Linked DNA regions of Homo sapiens: all the other regions are linked to region 3. The links are contacts of gene promoters, found by promoter capture Hi-C in human tissues and cell types (Jung and others, 2019). All regions are on one chromosome and are shown on one strand. Each heading gives the region's core, a stretch centred on a gene start or on the middle of the fragment in contact. The rest is flanking DNA. Distances are from core to core; before and after follow the strand shown. Region 1 holds the start of KRT26 (keratin 26). Region 2 overlaps SMARCE1 (SWI/SNF related BAF chromatin remodeling complex subunit E1). Region 3 holds the start of KRT15 (keratin 15).

Region 1 (2,746 bases), core at 108-2,607, 750 kb before region 3:
CTGACTATTTTTTTGTGTGTGTACTTTTAGTAGAGACGGGGTCTTGCCACATTGGCCAGGCTGGTCTCAAACTCCTGACCTCAAGTGATCTGCCTGCCTCAGCCTCCCAAGGTGCTGGGATTACAGGCATGAGCTACTCTATCCAACCATGATAGCTCTTTTTATAACGGCTTATTTAATTCAATTTCTTTATTGATCTAGTCTGGCTTTAGAAAAACATTTTGGTTTTCAAAGCAAAATATATATTCCTTAATCCAATTGTAATATTTTAACTTTTATTAATATAATTAATCAGTTTGTTTTCACCTACTTCAGCCTGAAGTCATCAGCGGTCAGTCTGGCATTGTCATTTTGTAGAACAATGCTGGCATTGCAGATGGTCGCAGAAATAATCTAAATAGGGAAGATTGTGAAAAATGTTAATTACCAAAAGTCAAAGGAGGCTCCAGACTTCAGTGTGATTTTATATCTTCTTAATCTGTCAAACATCTGTTTTAGTATCTTTTTTCTATGTTAAAGAAATCTGGATTTTCTTCAGATAATAAGCATCCAGAGCTTAAGAGCCACATAGATACTTTTACTACTTTTGATCAAATGGTATGAGCTAAATATATGAAAAACGAAGTGACTATATCTGTTTTGAAATGATTTCTTTTTCATTATTTAATTCTACAAGATTTTATTGCCAGGTACTGTGCTTAGCACTGGAAATACAGAGTGAACAAATCTTACATCACATAAATTTGTTAGGCACATTTTATATTTTCTCTTCTTTAAATTATCAACACACAAAGTCTGTAGTAAAAGTATGCAAATCCCTATTTCTTACCTGCCTTTTAAGATCTTCTATGACTGAGAAGTATCTGCTATAGTCATGATCGTGTTCCCGGGAAGAGCCAGGCTCACATTTCTCGTACCAGCCCTTGATCTTCTGCTCCAGGTCTGCGTTGGCCTCCTCTAGAGCATGCACATGGTCCAGGTAGGATGCCAGGCGGTCGTTGAGATTCTGCATGGTCACCTTTTCATTCCCAGAGAGGAGGCTGTGCTCATTGCCAAGAAAACCAGCACAGGCACCACTTCCCAACCCTCCACCGCTATTGCAGAAGCTTCCTCCAGAAGAGATGCCCTCAAGAGTACAAGAAAAGCTGCTTCTTGCTCCCGATCCAACACACACATTCCCAGCCACGAAGCCTGTTCCTCCACCGGACAGCCTACCAGACCCAGTTCGCGAGCAGATCCTCCTGGATCCACCAGAAAGTCGAAAAGACATGGTGGCAGCACAGCCGGGCAACCCCTTCCCAGAAAGAGGAGCAAAGCCAGGGTTCACCTTCCACACTTGTTAGCTCCCTTGGCCTTTTATAGTATTCACTGGGTCATTTCAGTCTTGACTATGCCAGTCTGTAATAAAATTTACTTGCATCCTAATTGTTGTTTTTCACAATTGGGTAATTTTTAACAGCGTCCAGTCTGTAGGTGGAAAGGTGCCCCAAGGATATTTTTTATATATAAAAATGGTGCCAGGTGAAGTAAAACTAAATCATAGCCTCAAAGGCCAAAATTAAATATGACTAAATGTGCATCTTTTTGGCCACTGGAATATTAATAGAATCTAGATTCTCCCCCTGCCACATATAACAAAGAATTAATAATTCCAATGAGAAATGTCTCCTACTTTTGTCCTGTTAACGCTCATAGAGTATTTCTAGTATTCCCACTTCATTGAGTGCTTCCTTTCTTCCTTTCGTTTCTTTTTCTTTTTTCCTTTTTTTAAAGATATGTGGTCTCGCTATGTTTCCCAGGCTGGTCTCGAACTCCTGGCCTCCAGTGATCCTCAGCCTCAGCACCCAGCTCAGCCTCCTGTGGCCAGCATTACAGGTGTGAGCCACTGCCCTGGGTGTCTGGGTGTGTGTTTTCCTTCTTATCAAAACCAGAAAATCTCAGCATCTATTGATCTTTTGGTAGTGGGAGATTTTAAAAGAAATCTACCATTTCTTGAATTGAAAACTGAAGTAATAGAAATCCTGCAGTCCTGCTTATTGTTAATTTCAATATAATTCATGAATATGTGATGATGGTGGAGAATTAATTCGATTGAGATTTCTTGGTTTGGTCCAGGAGCAGGACATCAATTCAACTAACAGTCTCCAAATTGTTCACTTCCCTACCCCTAAATAGTGTTTACTGTCTTTTAGTTTAAATGTATGTATTTAAGACATTAGGAATTATTTTGAGAAGTGAGCATCATATTGATTAGCAAGGAGTAAAATATATAAGGAGGGAGGTGTTTTCATCATTACCTAGAAAACCAGTACTTATAGTACCCTAGAGAGAAGATAAGTTGTCACAGGGAAGTACTCTTTATTCTCTTGCCTTGATGCTCTTGGGAAGTTATCCAGGCTTGGATCATTTCCCTACTGGGCAAATGAAAATAATAGCATCAAAGAGTCTCAAATGAATGTTGAGCAGTTCCAATCATGAATGACGATAAGACAGTTTGAAAGGCACAAACATTTTTAAATGTTAATTATTTAAATTATTATAATAAAGTGGACATGTCAGACAGGGTCGGGTCTCTATCACCTATAATGATACAAATTGATTGGTTAACTAATTATGGGTTTAGTTTTGAAACAGTAATTTTCTTCCGAATGATATTTTTCAATGTTGTGGATAGTGAATCCTTTGGAAAACATCCAACATTATTGTCACTAAATCGTATGGAACATTTAGTGGACTGCATGGATTT
Region 2 (2,700 bases), core at 200-2,699, 880 kb before region 3:
GCAGCAACTCTCTTTCCAATTTTCTGCTTTCAATTTCCAATGGGGAGGCGGGTAGAACTGTGCTTACAGAAGAGCAAGGTCCTAGGAAATCTCCTATGAATAAAGTTCATGGTTTTGTGAAATTTATCTTGGTTACTCAGTTTTTTGTTGTTGTTTCTTTTGCAATTCTCAGCTGTTTCTCTAGCAAGAACTTATTTAAGAGCTTTCTTCTGGGGCAGAATTTCTATTAATGTACAGAAATAGGCTGTTTTTAAAGACATTTTTGTCTCAATGTGTTTTCACACCTGTACTTAAGAGAATGTTAATCATCATCTGAATGAAGAACTGACTAGGAGTGAATTCCATCTTGTAGCTATCATAAGCACTCCAAAAGGTCTCGACATGCTATACAAAGTATTTACTGTCTGAGAACTACCCAAGTATACTGGAGTCATCAGGGAAACCCAATGTTCTCTACAGCCTACCACAAGCTACTGGACAGGGCTTCACAGATTCGTTCCTTGAAAACCACTAATGCAATCTGCGCACAACAATACCATACAGGAGCTTCCCCTCACCCCCAAAAGTAATGCATAACTAGGGTCATAGTAAAATCAAAATGCTTTTATTATGGTCAAAATCAGAGCCATTGAGTCCTAACAGCTTAAACTAGATATAGAAAGCAGGGCAAGTAGTGTAAAACCTCCACATTTTCTAGGCCCTTCTTCATATAGCAGTTTGATTATACTTCAATTTGGTGTTAAGAGGACAATAATACAAAGTAAATGTCCACAAAGGACCAAAACACCAAATTTTCCATGTCCAACAACTCTCTATAATTAATCTACTATGTAGCTAGTGTCCACGCCAAATGTTCAGTTCTTAACATTCGCCAAGAAGGAATGGGAAGAAACAGATGAGTGACTTCAGATAGGGAGTACACTTTCTCTTCCTAGTCTCCATCGAACAATCTCACTTTTTTAACTGAGAATCCCCCACAGCTACATCCAAGTTAAGAGCAAAATACTTACACAAAACCAAAAGACAAATTACTGTAATATTATAGTTATCATTTCTATTCCATTAACATAGATAATCAAGAGGTGACTGTATAGAGCTATTAAATGCAATCATTCTTGTTTACTGCCCGTGAAAAAATTGCTGCATTAACATTAAGATCCATGATTGATTCCGTTCATTGTTTAAACTGAAATGTTCTTTATCATTTGAAAACCTTGCCATCCATTACACTTGTGAAACAACATGTTTAGGCCAGGGAAAAACATGTATTGATGCACATAAAAATTGTATGCATTGTGAAATGCATACATACACACACTTTGTCAGAATTCTTTTTCAGATACCATGAAATATGCATGGCACATAAAACTTGATATGCTTATGAAGTACATATTATGCAGAAACAATGAAAAATTTAGACAAACAAAACCTATCAAGCTAAGCAATATGCTTATCAAGATAGACATTCATTTGATAGCTACAAGCTTTCAGTTCCAGCTTGACTACAGGGTGAGAGGGCTTTTTTGAAGTTACATTAATAGAAGGCACTTGTTATTTATGAATACAGCAAACAAAAACCAGGTATTAAAAACTTTACAGCCATTCTGGGTTGTATAAATTCTCACCAACACTACATTCCAATGTAGTATTTGACTTTTGGATTTTTTATCTTTAGTAAGTCATTTTTATAATTATTGGCATTTTTTGGTGCTTAAACTTTTTTGAATGAAATTTAAGATGATTCTAAACTAAAAGATTTGAAGTGTATCATCCAATTTTGATATCTTAGGCTGATCACTTAAATGAAACATGCTAAGTTTCAGAAATCCTATCTCTTATACTAAGGATTAGAAATGCACTTCTCGTTGTACATATCTAGTCTGATACTTCAAATTAATTTCATTCAACCTTCACTCTGCATTTCTTTGAGGTGACATTAAAACGTTTTTCTCTTTTTCACTGTAGAGAAATGAGTCTTAGTTAGAAGGTCAACTACTAAATCCAAAAGACAAATAACTATGGGTAGCGATTCAAACTGGTGTACCAGCCAAAAGCTTTCCAGCCCTGAAAAAGCCAGGTCTGAAAGACCAGCCTCTACTAGAAACTCAATCCTTGAGACTAATGCCAATCACCTTATAAAAATGAAAAATACTCTTTATGTCAAAAAGGATATTTTTACCTTAAGAAATTCTGTTTGTTTACATACAGTATAAGCATCAAGTGCTCAAGGCTTTAACCCTACCAACCACCAAACAGAATGGATTTTTCTTTTCTTCTATATACATTCCAGATCTCACTATTTATTTTTTCAGTGTGAGATGCTACAACGAATGTTGAAAATACTCAAAAAGCTAGGTTAAAAAATTTTTTTTAAATGGCTGTGCTTATGATTCAAAAAGACCTAATTCTGAAGGCATTTCTGGTCAATTCCAGTTGTTTGCCGGATGCTGTAATAGTTGATTCTCCTACCGTGACCCGGCTGTTGGTGCCCGGGTTCCCTCCCAGCCTGTAGTTGTTGTAGGCGAGATGACTGTATGGATTGTATCCCACAAACCCTGGTGTGCTGGGCATTTGCTGATGGAAACAAATGAGACAAAAACACGAATGAGAAATGAGCTCAAACGAGGAAAACACAGAAATGAAAAATGATCTGCATATGGCATGCAAAAGCAACCTGAATTTAAACAAGCAATGATGTGT
Region 3 (2,700 bases), core at 201-2,700:
CCTGTGGGAATTGGTTGCCCAGGAGAGTGGGGCAGTGGGGTGCAGCCAGCTCTGACAATAGCTCTCTCAGAGACACTCCACCAGCCCCACTGTGGACAACTCATGGTCACTGCCTCCTGCACACCTTGGACACAGCCATGGATCTACAGAACATTCCAGCCAGTAGCAACCTGGAGGGCAGTTAAGAAGGCATTTTACGAATGAGGAACCCAGTCTTAGGGAGTAAAATGGTGAGTGAGTGGGTGGCAGAATGTGTAATGAGTTCCCAGGTCTCCTAAGACCCAACAGTACTTTTGGCACAAAAGACCTCTTTATAGGAAAAGACAAGAGGTTCTAGCATCTGGAACTCATGAGGCCACACTCCAATCCCATTCTTGCAAAAGAGGTAAAGGAATACTTTATGCAGAAGCCTGCAGGGTGCATGAGGTAGGGAGGGCGAGTTGCTCTTTTTTTTTAATTATTTTTATTTAATTAGATACAGGTTCCACTCTGTCACCTAGGCCGGAGTGCAGTGGCACAGTCATAGCTCACTGCAGCCTCTAAATCCTGGACACGAGCAATCCTATCACCTTGGCCCCCCAAAGCACTGGGATTACAGGTGTGAGCTACTGCCTCTGGCTCTTTATAATTGCCCCCACCTGTGCCCCTGTTGGTCCTAACCAGATTCCCAAGACCCCTCTCTCCCTCCCCCAGCACCACCAAGTTGAGAAGATGTGCACTGGCCTCTGCACCTGGACAGCAGGTGCATTCCAAATTTGCTGAGATTACATACCAGACAGTCATTGCCTGGGCAGGAAAGGATTTCCTTGAGTCAGCAGTAACACTGACATTAGAGCTGTGTACAGGGTACCAGCCACCTGCTCCCCTCTCTTTGACATCCGAGGACTCACCTTGTCCCGGAGCTCTTCAATGGTCTTGAAGTATTGGCTGTAGTCGCATTCTGGGCTGGTTGGGGTCTGCTTCTGGTACCAGTCATGGATCTTCACCTCCAGGTCAGCATTGGCCTCCTCCAGGGCACGTACCTTGTCCAGGTAGGAGGCCAGGCGGTCATTGAGGTTCTGCATGGTAATTTTCTCATTGCCAGAGAGGAGACCACCATCGCCACCACCAAAGCCACCACCAAAACCCCCACCAACGCCCCCTCCAAAGCCTCCACCGAAAACACTACCAGCCCCTCCACCAAAGCCACAGACCCTCATGCCACCCCCATATCCTCCTCCTGACCCTGAAGAGACAAACCTAGCAGAAGAAGCTGAGATACTTCGGCTTCCACCTCCCCCAGAGAGACTCCCCCCACCAAAGCCACCTCCCCCAGCCAGGAGGGAACCCCCTCGGGTTGAGCCACCCCCAAAGGTGGAGGAAGAAGTTTGCAGAAATGTGGTGGTCATGGCCAGGTAGCTGGAGCCCGTGAGTTCTCAGCAAACCCAAGAGATGCTGGCAGGAGGTACCAGGCCAGGCTGCACGCTGGGGCTCCTTATATACCCTTCAGAGGGTGTTGTGGGACCTCGTCTCCTCCCCTAAAGCAAAGCCAACTCCTTCTGCCTTCCTGACAAACACAGCTGCCTGCACACCTTGAGTGGGTCATGTGAAGTTTTTCTCTTCTATTTTTTTTTAATGCAACAAAAGAGATGATTCAGAATTAATAGTGTTTTTCCCCAGGGCACGGTTTTAACACTTGGATTACAGGTTCATCTCTCCATGCCAGAAGAGAGCAGCAGGGAGCGAACTCTCATCACAGCACAGCTACCAAGGCCTCTGCCTGTACTGAGAGCAGCTCAGGCCAACTGTGCCCTCAGCTGGACTTCACTTCCCCGAGCCCTGAGCCTCTCCCCAAGAGGACAGCTCCGTGTTCTTAGTTTGGGAGTCCACTGGCCGATCATTATGCTGTGTTATCCAACTCAAAACCCTGTGAGTGAGTGAGTGAGTGAATGAGTGAGTGAGTGAGTGAGTGAGAGACTGCAGGGCTCAGGGAGAGTGGAGGCCCTGGGGATGGGAATGCAGGGCCCCTGGGGGCAGGTGGAGGACAGGAGCCAGGGACCTTGAGTAGTGTTCCAGCTGAGGTGACCAGAGGAGCCAGCATCCATCCCCTTACCTGGTGCTGCAGATGGACTCCCCTCCTCCCACCTCTACTCCCCTCCTGCCATCCTCCAGCCTGTGTTCCTGGCACCCTCACAAAAGCCCAGCAGGCTTGGGACTGACAAGGGGATGACTGATGATCCCGACACCTGCCAACTGCACGGCGCTGAACCTTTGCTCGTTTCTGGGATGTGTTGGGGCAAACCTCCGCTGATAAGGCTGGGGCAAGTTCCAGGAAGCCCCTGCCTTCTCCAGGAGAGGCATGTCGCTGCTTAGCAGGGCCAGATTAGCCCCCATCTGTCCTGTCAAGTGCTGGCTGGGGACGGGCCGCTGCAGAAGGCTCTATGTGCCTGAATGCTGTGGAAGGGAAGAGAAGGGAGACTGGCAGGCAGGCTGGAAGACACCGGAGATCTTGAAGACCAAGGCATTGCTTCACACAGACGGGGAGTTGAACACTCAGGAGAGCCCTTTTCTCTGCCACCAGCTCAGGGACACCTTTCCAGGGACACCTGATACCTGTGGGCAGTGCCACTTGGAGGTGTGGCTCAGCCCTCTGGACCTGGCCCCAGGGCTTACAGAAACTCAGGAGGAGGATTCCTAGCCCAGGTTGCAGCATGGTGAAGT

The links. Contacts are between HindIII fragments. The study calls those that stand out against the background at their distance.
Region 1: the fragment with the promoter of KRT26 here is called in contact with the fragment with the promoter of KRT15 in region 3 in 1 of the 25 tissues and cell types used here (lymphoblastoid cells).
Region 2: a fragment that was not itself captured here is called in contact with the fragment with the promoter of KRT15 in region 3 in 1 of the 25 tissues and cell types used here (neural progenitor cells).

Annotation. Positions count from the first base shown.
Region 1 is chr17:40,770,844-40,773,589 of GRCh38, forward strand. It overlaps KRT26 (keratin 26), which reads right to left and starts at 1,358. Exons shown (of 8, transcript NM_181539.5): 1 at 830-1,358; 2 at 311-393. The coding sequence starts at 1,270. The HindIII fragment of the contact is 6,204 bases long and covers 393-2,746 here.
Region 2 is chr17:40,639,986-40,642,685 of GRCh38, forward strand. It overlaps SMARCE1 (SWI/SNF related BAF chromatin remodeling complex subunit E1), which reads right to left. Exons shown (of 11, transcript NM_003079.5): 4 at 2,470-2,574. Among named protein-coding and RNA genes, the nearest start is that of SMARCE1, 6.5 kb to the right of the region's middle. The HindIII fragment of the contact is 4,314 bases long and covers 1-2,700 here.
Region 3 is chr17:41,517,440-41,520,139 of GRCh38, forward strand. It overlaps KRT15 (keratin 15), which reads right to left and starts at 1,451. Exons shown (of 8, transcript NM_002275.4): 1 at 891-1,451. The coding sequence starts at 1,388. RefSeq lists enhancers at 1-86, 1,791-2,700. The HindIII fragment of the contact is 25,725 bases long and covers 1-2,700 here.